Regions from separate parts of the Homo sapiens genome. Here all the other regions are linked to region 2. The links are contacts of gene promoters, found by promoter capture Hi-C in blood cells and fetal thymus (Javierre and others, 2016). All regions are on one chromosome and are shown on one strand. Each heading gives the region's core, a stretch centred on a gene start or on the middle of the fragment in contact. The rest is flanking DNA. Distances are from core to core; before and after follow the strand shown. Region 1 overlaps VWF (von Willebrand factor). Region 2 holds the start of NTF3 (neurotrophin 3). Region 3 overlaps VWF (von Willebrand factor).

Region 1 (4,168 bases), core at 6-2,505, 610 kb before region 2:
GGTAATGGGGGCATGGAGGAGGGGAGGCTCTTCTGTCTCCTCCCTGCCAAAGTCAGGGAGGGAGTTGTTAGGAAAATGCCTGGGGTTGATCCTCACAGGATCTGACAAAAATATAAGAACTTAGCTTACAGGAGTGCCATAGGAAGCAAAGAATTTCCAGAAAATACGTACTAGTAAAAACAAGCATTCCCACTAGAATTTTCCCAGGGGCCGCCTTCCATGCTATGAAAATGGAGGGACACATATATATTTGCATATGATTGACGTATATGCATATAATTTTCTATTTCAAAAAAAGACATTGATGGCCCTGCCGTGTCACTAGCAAGCCATGGGCCCAACAAGTCTCTTCCCCACAATGAAACTTGTTTTCCTCATCTGTAATGTGAGTCGTGAGGTCTTGGCCAGCCCTTAACATTCCATGACTCCGGTGCTGTGCCTGAAACAGGCATGGAGGCCGTGCATCCAAGGCCGTGCTGGTTTGCGACTCCTGGCTCCTATGTGGATGTTCTGCTGCTGGTGGCAATGATCTGAGCATGCCTACTCCTCCTTATCTCCCTCCCAAGTCTAATCTTAGCCAGCGTTGTATTAAATAGATTACGCATACATCCTGAAGGATGCAACTTCCAGATGTTTCTCTTTCAAAATGCATCCTGTCTTCTTGTTTTCCCCAACTCCAATTCCTTATACCCAAAGTGAATGGTGAGGAGTTGGGGCAGAGGCTGTGGAGGCCAGAATGGGAGAGGGTGGCTCTCAGATGGCTTTGGAGGGGACTTAGTGTTGCCCAGGACTCTGCTTGAGGGGAAGTGTCCTGGACTGTGGGACCTGTCAATATTCTGTAGAGGGAATGTGGACTCAATTACCAGTGTCTCTCAGGAAGGCTGGGATTGCAGTGTGTGAAGGACAGATGCTTACTTTTCTACTTCCCCTTCAACTCTTTCTTCTCCCAAACAGAGAGACCAACTCTTGTTAATTCTCTCCTCCTCTGTCTTAGCCTCTGAGGGTTTTGGAACTGTCTTTTCTGATGAGGAGAGCTAGCGATTGGCCAATGAGCACCTTTGAACTGGAAGGGTTGTTTGGTGCCTTAGCAGAAGGTGGATATCACGAAGGGTCTCTAAGGTGGGGAATCTCAGACCTGGGTAGGAACAAAAAATAGGAGAGGGCAGGGGAATCTTCCTTATTGCTCTTCTTTATCCCTGGGGCCTCTTAGGTAGAGTGTCTCAGAGCTTTGGTGTGGGGAAAGCATAGATCATTGTCTCTTCATCATACTCAGCAGGAAAAGGAACATCACTCAGAGGACTATGTCAGCATCGGATATGCTTTGAAACAAACTTTTTTGTCATGAAGGAAAAAATACAGATAGCCTTAAATATTAGTAACCACAATAATTATATTATGACCCCAAATCCAAAAAAGAGGACAGCGGGACCTCAAATACAGGCTGTGGCTATCCTGTTAGGCGCTCATTTCATTCCTGAAGCACTGGGCATGCATTCTGAGGACAGCACTTGGATACCTGTCACGTGACGAGGTGACTCGCACTTCAGCCACAGGGGATTCTAACTTGCAGGTTCATATTGTAAGAGATTCGGTTATTTTCACAACTGCTTCCTTACGATGCCGGCGAGTGTGCAAATTATTGCGGCCAGATTCGAGAGAGCAGAGAAGTCCGTGTAATTTATTAAGGGTGCGCAGCGTGCCGCCTGCAGCACGGGACACGTGTTCTTGGCCATAACACAAAGAAAATGGAGCTGGGCCTGGAAACACCCTGTTTGGGCCCATCTGATGGTGCAGACATCATCCCTCGGGGTGTTCCTCTGTCCAGTCTGTCCCTTGTGAAGGGGCAGGGTTGTGGGATGTCACTAAGGGCTTGGGGAAGGGGTCACGGATTCTGCATTCTTCTGAGGACTTGACAGGGGAAAGGGAAGTGGCTTTTTCCCGGGGGCAGATCTGCGGGGGGCAGAAAGAGCAGGAATGGGGTGCAGAGGGCAGACCCGTCAGGCCAGGCTTCCCTGCTTTCCCACTCCATGCTCTTGTGCAATCCTTCAGTCTTTACCGGAAGCCCAGTCACCTCATGTGTTACGTAGACACCGAATTCCTGTTCTGCCTCCATGATGCATGGCTGTGGGCCCCAAGGAGATGTGTGTGAAAGCACTTTAAAGCCAGAGAGTTCTACAGAAGTGTAGGAATAGCTTTCATTGTTGTTTCTGTAACTATCCAAGGCTGTCTCAGAGGCTGCACCCATCAGTTCTTCCTGCTGTCCATAGGAGAGACCTGTAAAGGATGCTTTTTCTTAGATTTCCAGCCTGCTGTGGACCCATGCTTTTGTAAATACAATAAAAATGAATTCTCATAAAAATAAAACAAAAGCAATGACAAAAATAATATGATCCCACCCAACTAAAAAATATTTTCAGCTGGGCGCAGTGGCTCACGCCTGTAATCCCAGCACTTTGGGAGGCTGAGGCGGGCGGATTACGAGGTCAGGAGATCGAGACCATCCCGGTAACACGGTGAAACGCTGTCTCTACTAAAAATACAAAAAATTAGCTGGGCGTGGTGGCGGGCGCCTGTAGTCCCAGCTACTTGGGAGGCTGAGGCAGGAGAATGCCGTGAACCCAGGAGGCGGAGGTTGCAGTGAGCTGAGATTGCACCACTGCACTCCAGCCTGAGCGACAGAGCGAGACTCCGTCTCAAAAAAAAAAATTTCTTTTTTTTTTAAAAATTTTTTTGAGACGGAGTTTTGCTCTGTCACCCAGGCTGCAGTGCAGTGGCATGGTCTCGGCTCACTGCAACCCCCACCTCCCAGGTTCTAGTGATTCTCCTGCCTCAGCCTTCTGAGTAGCTGGGATTACAGGCGCACACGACCACACCCAGCTGATTTTTGTATTTTTAGTAGAGATGGGGTTTTGCCGTGTTGGCCAGGCTGGTCTCGAACTCCTGACCTTAGGTGGTCTGCCTACCTCTGTCTCCCAAAGTGCTGGGATTACAGGTGTGAGCCACCATGCCCGGCCTTAAAAAATGTTTTCTTTCCTTTTTTTCATGATCCCTAAATCTAAACTCTTACTTCCCACTTTTTATGACATATAACAGACATAACATGACTCTGCCAAATTTCCCTAAGATTTTCTAAACACTTTCTCTTAGTTTCTGTGCTTGCGTCCTCACAGGCTGGCCCTGGCCCAGGGAATGCACTTTGAGCAGCCCTGTTCTCAGCCGAAGATTGTCTCTCCTCCTCTAAGGTGCCTCTCAGTGTCCACCGTATGCCCAGAAGCACCTGTTTGAAAATATTGGCGGGGGCAGAGAAAGAACCCCTCTCTTTCTGGTTTGTCCCAGGCCTGGCACCTGCTTAGAGCAGAGGTTTTCTGGTTGACCCCACAAGCTGCAGGCTGTATCTGCTCCTGCCATCGTGCAAAGGTCTCCTGGCATGGGAATGAGGAGGATGGGGGTCCCTTTGCTAAGTGGTCCGCACCGTGATAAATGAAGGGCAGAGAAACCGCCTGGAAACGGCATGGTATCGGAACCTCACACTTCCAGGTTTGAATCCTGCCTCCTAACATCTACTTAAGTGAGTGGCAAGTCACTTAACATCTTGGCGTCTTAATTTTCTTATCTGTAAAACTGGCTTGCAGGCTGTTGGGAAGACTGGAGATGAGAGCAGCGAGCACATGGGAGGTGCTTAGTGAGTGGTGGTTTAATGACCACTAACTATTACAGTAAGTTCGTGGTGGGAAACGGTGAATCCTGCCATGAACAGAGATGCTGCAGGGAATTAGCACACACAGGAGCATCTTTTTAGATCCCAGTGTTCACTTTCTGAGACCTGCCGGATCGATAAAATGAGGGGGTTGTGCTGGAAGATCTCCCAGGTATTTTTCTCTAGTTCAGAAATTCTTGGAGCCATGCTTGCCTGAAGCATCCATCTCTTTAAGTTAGAATATTACCTGCTACCACCACTAGGTGACAGCAAAGCACAACTCACTGCCCTGCTCACCCTTCCTGAGTCCGGCGGCAAGGGTAACTCTGGGAGCATCGTAGAGGGCAGAGAAGAAGAAACCCTGAGGTCCCATTATGTCAGCCCCTTCTATCACACGGGAGGAGACTGAGGACAGAAAGGGAACAGAGCCGGGTCAAGCCTTCATAGTTGTATAGTGGAAATTCTGGTCTC
Region 2 (3,988 bases), core at 1,489-3,988:
TTCCCCCACCCCCCACACACATCCCTTTGGTAATCCTCAGGCGCCCAACCTTCCACATGCATCCACCTTTCCCTCACACACACAGCCGCCCTCCTACACCACACCCACTCCATGTGTTTGTGCAGGCATGCACAAGCCATCTGTCTTCAACAGGCTGCACCTCTCCTCCTGCTCTGACACCCTTCATAGGCACAGATTTCGCATTAGCTACACCTATGTTCCTGCAAGCTCTTGTCTCCCGCTAAGCACACAGATGCCCATCCGACAGACTCCCCAGAAACACACACCTCCCAGGCACCAAAGAGGGATAGGACTCCAGCTCTTTTGCCACCTTCCCCTACACACACACACACACACACACACACACACACACTTTGGAAAAACATCCCCATCCCTCCCTGACCACTCACTCAATGGTCACAATCTCACTCCATAGATAAGCATATCCCATTCACACACAACCAAACCCTCTAAGTCCAGCTACACTCCAGTCCTCACCAACACAAAATCCCACACACTCTCCCTAGGGGAAATACCCCAGACTTTCTATCTCCCTTCAACACTGTCTACCGGAGCCTGCATTATTTTCCAACCCCCTTACCTCCTAACACGATACCTAAGTCTGTGTGTTTGCGCCCAAGGCAGAGGGGGTTGGAGTTTATCCTCCACATTCTACCTTTCAGCTTTCTTTGTGTGACATGTCAAAAAGGAATTGAGGGCAGGCGGGAGGCAGGCTGAGTACGCTGGAGAACTTCTGAGTGTTGTGAAAACAGGACCTCTGGAAAAGTCTCCTCTATGTTACAACTTTCTCCCATCCTGACGTTTAGGACAGAGCGCTTCCATGTTCTCCTCGTTCGCTGTTTTGCGGGGTAGGAGCGGGCACCTCTTTATTTAAAAAGCAGGTCGCTCAGTGCACTCCATAATCAGCTGAGTTACAAACATCAGGCTCCAGGAGAAACACCCACCCCTTCCAGGCTCCCCTCCCCTCTCAGCAGGCCCTCGCCCCCGCCTCTTCACACACATAAACAAGTCCACAGGCGCACAGTCTCCCGAGCTCTCTAGCTCTGAGCCCGGCGCTCCCGGGAGCAACCTCCATTCGGACTCAGAACCTGCCGCCCGCCGCCAGAGGCCGAGGCCAGACGATCTTTTCGGTGTTTCCCCCACCGGCAATCCCACCCCAGCCTCGATTCCAGCAAAAGGGATCCTTTCTAGTCCACAGCCCCGACACCGTCGGACGCAAGGGTCTCAGTGCCGTGCATCTGAAGCGCAGACGACGAATGAACGCAGCAGCCAAACTCCCGCAAAGAAGCAGCGCCTCCTGGACGCGCACCCACTCCCGCGGAGAGCAACAAGCAGAATCCTACTCCCCCATCCCATGCCCTCGGCCCTCGCCCCTCCTGTCCCTAACCTTCAACTCCCAAGCGTCCCAAATTTCATCAGGAGCATCCACCACTGAGTAAAGCTCTGGGGCAATGGGACAGTTCGGTCCGTCGTGGGACCTTTAAACTCCGACCTGGCTGGCTGCGCGGGTGCCCAGGTCTCCCGGCCTCCCACGCCACCGCTCAAAGTCCGAGAACAGGCTGGACGATACCGCAAGGAGATCCCCTGGGATGGCCGGGCCCGGGTGCCCGCCGCTCCCCGGAGGGGTCCCAGATGTGCGGGCTGCGTACGGAGCTCCAACATCTGCGCAAAGGCCCAGGGTGGGGTGGCCACCGGGTGGGCGCTGGCCAAGAGGAGCCCGGGGCGCGAGGTCTTTTCTGAAAAAACCCTTTCGGGGAACTCCAACGCAGGTACGCGGCGCGTGGCAGTGAGTCCCAACTCCCAAAACTGGAACGCGAGGTTCCGGGTCCTGAGCTGCGCGTCCCCTCCCCCCAGCCCACGCCCGGGCCAGAGTGGTGCTGGGGCGAGCTGAGAATCAGGCTCAGCGGCCGGCAGAGTGCAGGGCGTGTGCAGGGGAGCTGCCGCGGCACCTCCCCGCCCGGAGTTCTGTCTGCCACCCCCTTTTGTTATAGGATGCGCTAGGAGCTTTCTCGGAGGAGCAGGCGGGTCGGTTGGGAGTGGTGGGTGGTTGATTCTGTTGAATCTCTTTCCTGCTCTTTCGTCGTCCCCATTTCCCCTCTTCTGCCCCCACCCTTTCCAATCCAGGTCCCTTAAACCTGATCACTTTCCCAGATTGAGGGAAGCTTCTTGGGCAGCCGAGGGACAAGAGGGGAGGAGGTGGAGAAGGGTGTCCGTGTCTGTGTGTGTGTGTGTGTGTGTGTGTGTGTGTGTGTGTGTGTGTGTGTGTGTAGCGGGGTGGCTGCGGTTGCGCTTCGGCCTGAGCAGATCCCAGCGCAAACTTTGGGGAAGACACAAGCCCGGGAAAGTGAGTGAGCGCGGCGCGATGGGGGTGGGGCGGGATGCGGATCTGGGGCCCCCCGCACCAGTCCACTGGAAAATCCCTCCCCACGTGGACCCCCATCCCCAAACCTGCCCACCCAAGGTGCCCGCCGCCTCCCCTTACCGTGGCAAAAGTAACCATGGCATCCGTGTGGCCGTTTCCAGGGACGTCGACATGAAGAGAAAGGTGGACGCGAGCTCGGTCATTCAAAGTCTCCCCCACCCCGCCGCAGCCACTACCCAGCAGGGGAAAAAGGAGAGGAAGAAAGAAAGGAGAGAGAAGAAAGTAGTTGCGCCGGGCTGCGTCGCGGGGCGGTGCGCGGAGCTGTTCGGAAGGGAGAGGAGCTTCAACTCTGAGTCCCGTGAACAGAATCTGCGCGGTTATAACCAGCCAACCCGGCCAGATGGCTCCGCGCTCAGCGCCTTAACCCCTTCCGCGCCGCGCCGCCCTCCCCCGCCGGCCCGCGCCGCGCCGCGCGCGCCCGCGCCCCAGAGCCCCCCCCCCGCCCTCACTTCGGGACCCGTGGCGGGGAAGGGGTCATTTCTCCTGGCCCCTCTTGAAAAACAAAACCAAACCAAACAACAACAGCAACAAAAACTTCCAAATCTGTAGTATTCTTCAGTAACCCCCACCCTTGAGTTCCCTTTTAGAGATCCAGGAAAAAACGAAACGTTAAATGTATCGTAACAGGTTACATGTTAGTGTCTTCAGCCTTTCTTAGTGGTTCTTTTTCTTGAAATTTTTCTTTTTGATCTTTTTTCTTTCAAGATTTTCTTTACAAGGCATCAGGGCCTTTTCCTGCCTTTTTCCTCAGGAGGATCAGGTCTGAGGCGTAAACTCCTCCTCCAAACCTTAGACCCTTCCAGCTCCAGATCTCTCCCCACCCCCTACCAAGCCCACCCGCCACTCCTCCCCCCACCCCACAGCACGAACACGCCCAAGGACAATCGCTCCCCGGCGAACTCCCCGCTCCCGGGGACCCGCACCCAGGACGCTGTGTCGGCGGTCAAGGGAGGTCAAGGTAGAGGGGCGTGGGGGCGGGTGGTCCGAGGGACTAGGGAGGGGCTGTGTGTGCGCGCGCGTGTTTGCGGGAGCTTGAGTGTGGAAGGGAGAGGGAGATGGATCGCAGCCTCCCATTTCACCCATCCTCCAACTTCTAAACCCCTTCCTTCCAAACTAGGATGGGGCCCTGCAGCTAATCACTCGCCCAGCACCCACCAGTCTGCACGCGGGGACAGCGCGAGAAGCAGGAAAGGCGAGCAACAAACAAACCTGTTCGTGGCGCCCCGAAAGTAATGACGCTCACTTCCCCACCGGTGGATACATTCGAGGAGAGGATAGGGGGAGGGGGTCAAAATCTCTTATTTGGAGATAATTTTAGCTGCCCGTTAGACCTCACTTGCTCCGAGCCGTTCTCTCTAAATTTACCAAGTTAAGTCATCTTGATTTCGCCCATTTGCCATCGAGAGAAGGGGGAAAAATACCACTTAGTGATCAACGAGAAATCGAGAGCCCGGAAGCAGAGTTTTGCCCACTTGCCCGCTTCCCGAGTCCTTGCGTGGTGGACCTCCGCTCCAAGCCCCTCATCCCTTCCTCCCTGCCACTTCA
Region 3 (3,809 bases), core at 53-2,552, 530 kb before region 2:
TTAGGAGGACAACTGTGTGAGGAAAGCAGGACTAATTGGCTGCTCAGACCTAAACAAGTGAACTCTGGGGCTGGCTGGGAACTTGCTCAGCAGGAGGAGGAAGAGGCTGCTCCTGAGAAGGATGTTTCCTGCGGTGATCAAATGTTCTGGGGAAAACCCAAAGGGCAGCTCTGCCCTCCCCTTGAACGGGGAAATGTGGAACACATACCCCCAGCCAGCAGCAGCCAGGAAATCCAGCAGTGCCCAAACAAGTCCTGTCCATCGTGTGCAGCTGTGGTCTGGCCCTGCCGGGTAGGAGACATGCTGCAGAGCAGGCTGTTCCCTCCATTCACTTCCATGCTCTCTCCTCCCTCCCTTGCTTCTTCCAAGCCCCTGCCACACCCTTAACACTGTTGCCCCCTTCGGCTTATTTTCTGCCTCCTTTCCCTTTTCTTCCAAATCTTTCTTCTCGCATAACTGCCCTCCACCTTTCCTTTTCTTGGCCTAACTTTGCCCTCTGCCTCCTGCTGTGGGGATTTTGCCTCCCTGACTGCCCTGTCCTCACTGGCTTTTCCTTCTGCCTGCTCCTGAAGACACGCCAAGTTCATGGCTTGATTTATGAGAGCAAATGGTTTAAATTAATCTCTGAGCAAGCTTACTGACTCCTAACCTTGACCTTGGGACAGGTCGTCTGTCTGGGTGCTCCAAATTGACTTGGTGATTCATAATAGAAAAGCCTCAGGACCCCAATGAATGGATCTCTGAATGGTGATCACTAAATGTGGCAAAATGAGAAAAAGAATGACAACAGAGTTGGTTTCTCACAAAGCTAAATTGATTCTTTAAAAAATTCTGGGATTATGTGATTACGTTCTTTCTGTTTTTTGGGGGTACGAAGGTGGAAAGGGTCAAAAGAACTATAATTTGTTTTTCTTCTGAAAGCAAAGCTAATAATTTTTAGGGAATGATGAGACAGTAGATGGTAGCTTGGTAGCTTTTTGTATGTATGTATGCATGTATGTATGCATGTATGTATGTATGTATGTATGCATGTATGTATGTATGTATGTATGTATGTATTTTTAGACAGAGTCTCTCTCTGTCGCCCAGGCTGGAGTGCAGTGGTGAGATCTCGGCTCACTGCAAGCCCCGCCTCCCAGGTTCACGCCATTCTCCTGCCTCAGCCTCCTGAGTAGCTGGGACTACAGGCGCCCACCGCCATGCCCAGCTAATTTTTTTCTTTTTTTTGTATTTTTAGTAGAGACGGGGTTTCACCGTGTTAACCAGAATGGTCTCAATCTCCTGACCTCGTGATCTGCCCACCTTGGCCTCCCAAAGTGCTGGGATTACAGGCGTGAGCCACTGCGCCTGGCTGCTTTTTGGTTTTTATTTTATTAAAATTGTTTAAAACACTCTTACTTTGCAAAATAAAAAGTTGCCAGCCCTGTTTTTCTCCCAGTCCTGTGTCTCGAAGCTGCTTCTTTGTCCGATGCAGATATAAATAAGGCGCTCTTACCTTATGCCGCTTCAACAAGTCCCTAGCTGCGCTGAGCTATGATTGCACCACTTGCCCTCCAGCCTGGGTGACAGAGCGAGACCTTGTCTCAAAAACGAAACAAAACAAACAGGAAAACAAGTTCCTAGCTGAACTTACCTCCTCTGTGAGTGTAGGGGTGCCAAGTAGGGGCCAGATGCTGGGGATACAAGAGAACAGCAGAGACACAATTTGCAACTTACCATGCTTCTCAGGGAGAAGTTTTTTCCAGCATTCTATGGGAGTTCCAGTTACTTCCTCACCAATGCTTGGTATTGTCATGCTTTTCAATTTTAGCCATTGTGAAGTGATATCTTCTAGCATTTTTTCCTTACTGCTTCTCTAATTTCAGAATCTTCTAGTATTTTAAATTTGCATTTCTCTGTTGGCTAATGATGTGGAGCATCTTACATACTTATTGGCCATATCATCTTTTGTGATGTGTTTGTTCAAGCTTTTGGCCATTTTTAAATTGGGTTGTTTGCCCTTTAATGATTGATTATGAGTTTTTTTCTGTATTTTGGATACTAGTCCTTTATAAGGTATCTAATGAAATATTTTCTTTCAGCCAGTGGCTCAGCTTTTATTTTTCTTAATTGTGTCTTTTGAAGATCAGAAGTTTAATTTCGATAAAATTCAGTTTATAGATGTTTTTCTTTTATGGTTAGTGCTTTTTATGTCCTGTTTAAGAAGTTTTTGTCCATTCTAAGGTCATGAAGATAGTATCCTATGTTTTCTTTTAGAAGCATTATAGTTTAGTTTTACTTTTAGGTCTATGATCCATGAGGAATAAATTTTAAATGTGGTATAAAGTAGGGGTCTCCCATGTGGCTATCCAGTGGGTCCAGCACCATTTGTTGAAAGATGATCCTTTCCTCATTAAATTATGTCGGTGCCTTTGTAAAAAATGAATTGCTGGCCGGGCGTGCTGGCTCACGCCTGTAATCCCAGCACTTTGGGAGGCTGAGGCAGGTGGATCACCAGGTCAAGAGATCAAGACCATCGTGGCTAACATGGTGAAACCCCTTCTCTACTAAAAATACAAAAATTAGCTGGGGGTGGTGGCAGGTGCCTGTAATCCCAGCTACTCAGGAGGCTGAGGCAGGAGAATCACTTGAACACTTGAACCCAGGGGGCAGAGGTTGCAGTGAGCCGAGATTGTACCACTGCACTCCAGCCTGGTGACAGAGCGAGACTCTGTCTCAAAAAAAAAAAAAAAAAAAAAAAGAATTGCCTGTGTATGTATGGACCAATCGCTAGGCTCCTTTTTTTCTGATCCTTTGTCTATCCTTATGGTCTCACCACTGTCTTGATTACTGTAACTTTATGGTTAGCCTTGAAATTAGATAATTTAAGTTTTTCAACTTTGCTGTTTTTCAAGATTGTTTTGGGTATTTAATGTCCTTTCAATTTCTATATAAATTTAGAGTCATCCTGTTAATTTTTATTAAAAAAATGTTTAAAGTGTGCCGGATTATATTGAATCTATAGGTTAATCTGGAGAGAAGGGATGTCTAGACAAGGTTGAGTTTTTCAATTTATGAACATAGTATATCTCTTCGATTATTTAGGTCTTGCTCTCAGTCTGTGCTGCTGTAACACAATACCTGAGACTGGGTAATTTGTAAAGAACAGAAATTAATTTTTTCACTGTTCTGGAGGTTCAAGATTGAGGTACCAGCAGATTTGATGTCTGATGATGGCCTGTTCCTCATAGGCAGTGCTTTCTCATGGCATCCACATGTGGCAGAAGGTGGAAAGGCAAAAGGCACTAGGGCATTCCCTTTGACTTTTTTTTTTTTTAAATAACAGCACAAATTCACTCAGGAGAGTGGAGCCCTCATGACTTAAATCACTTAGGCCCCATCTCTTAATATCATCAGTTGGGAGTTTAAATCCCAACATAGGAATTTTGTAGGGACACACACATTCACATCTTAGCAGTCTCCTTTAATTTTTCTCTGCAATGATTTTTTTTGTGTAGATGCACAAATTTTGTTACACTTATTACCTAGTATTTAAAGTTTTTGGACGATATTGCAAATGGAAGTTTTTTTTAAATTTTATGTTTTGTTTGTTGCTTTTATAAAATCAGTTTTTATATTTTGATCTTGTATTCTTCAGCCTTGCTAAATTCACTTATTAGTTGTAGTAATAGTGTTTTTTTTTTTTTTTTGAGGGGGCAGATTCCTAAGGATTTTCTTCATAAGCAGTTATGACACCTTCAAATAAAGACAGCTTTTACTTCTTCCTTTGAAATCTTTATACATTCTGTTTTGTTTTTCTTGTTATCAAA

Evidence for each region. Contacts are between HindIII fragments. The CHiCAGO score rates a contact against its expected background, and 5 or more counts as called.
Region 1: a contact is called between a fragment that was not itself captured here and the fragment with the promoter of NTF3 in region 2, in 1 of 17 cell types (megakaryocytes). The highest score is 7.5, in megakaryocytes.
Region 3: a fragment that was not itself captured here is called in contact with the fragment with the promoter of NTF3 in region 2 in 1 of 17 cell types (endothelial precursors); the score reaches 5.1 in endothelial precursors.

Annotation. Positions count from the first base shown.
Region 1 is chr12:6,039,994-6,044,161 of GRCh38, reverse strand. All of the region lies in intron 18 of VWF (von Willebrand factor), which reads left to right. SNORA120 (small nucleolar RNA, H/ACA box 120) reads left to right here and starts at 3,979; the gene lies at 3,979-4,125. The HindIII fragment of the contact is 6,812 bases long and covers 1-4,168 here.
Region 2 is chr12:5,430,858-5,434,845 of GRCh38, reverse strand. NTF3 (neurotrophin 3) reads right to left here and starts at 2,738. Exons shown (of 2, transcript NM_001102654.2): 1 at 2,504-2,738. The coding sequence starts at 2,521. RefSeq lists an enhancer at 1,396-1,921. The HindIII fragment of the contact is 3,984 bases long and covers 2,186-3,988 here.
Region 3 is chr12:5,961,470-5,965,278 of GRCh38, reverse strand. All of the region lies in intron 47 of VWF (von Willebrand factor), which reads left to right. Among named protein-coding and RNA genes, the nearest start is that of ANO2, 18 kb to the right of the region's middle. The HindIII fragment of the contact is 1,334 bases long and covers 636-1,969 here.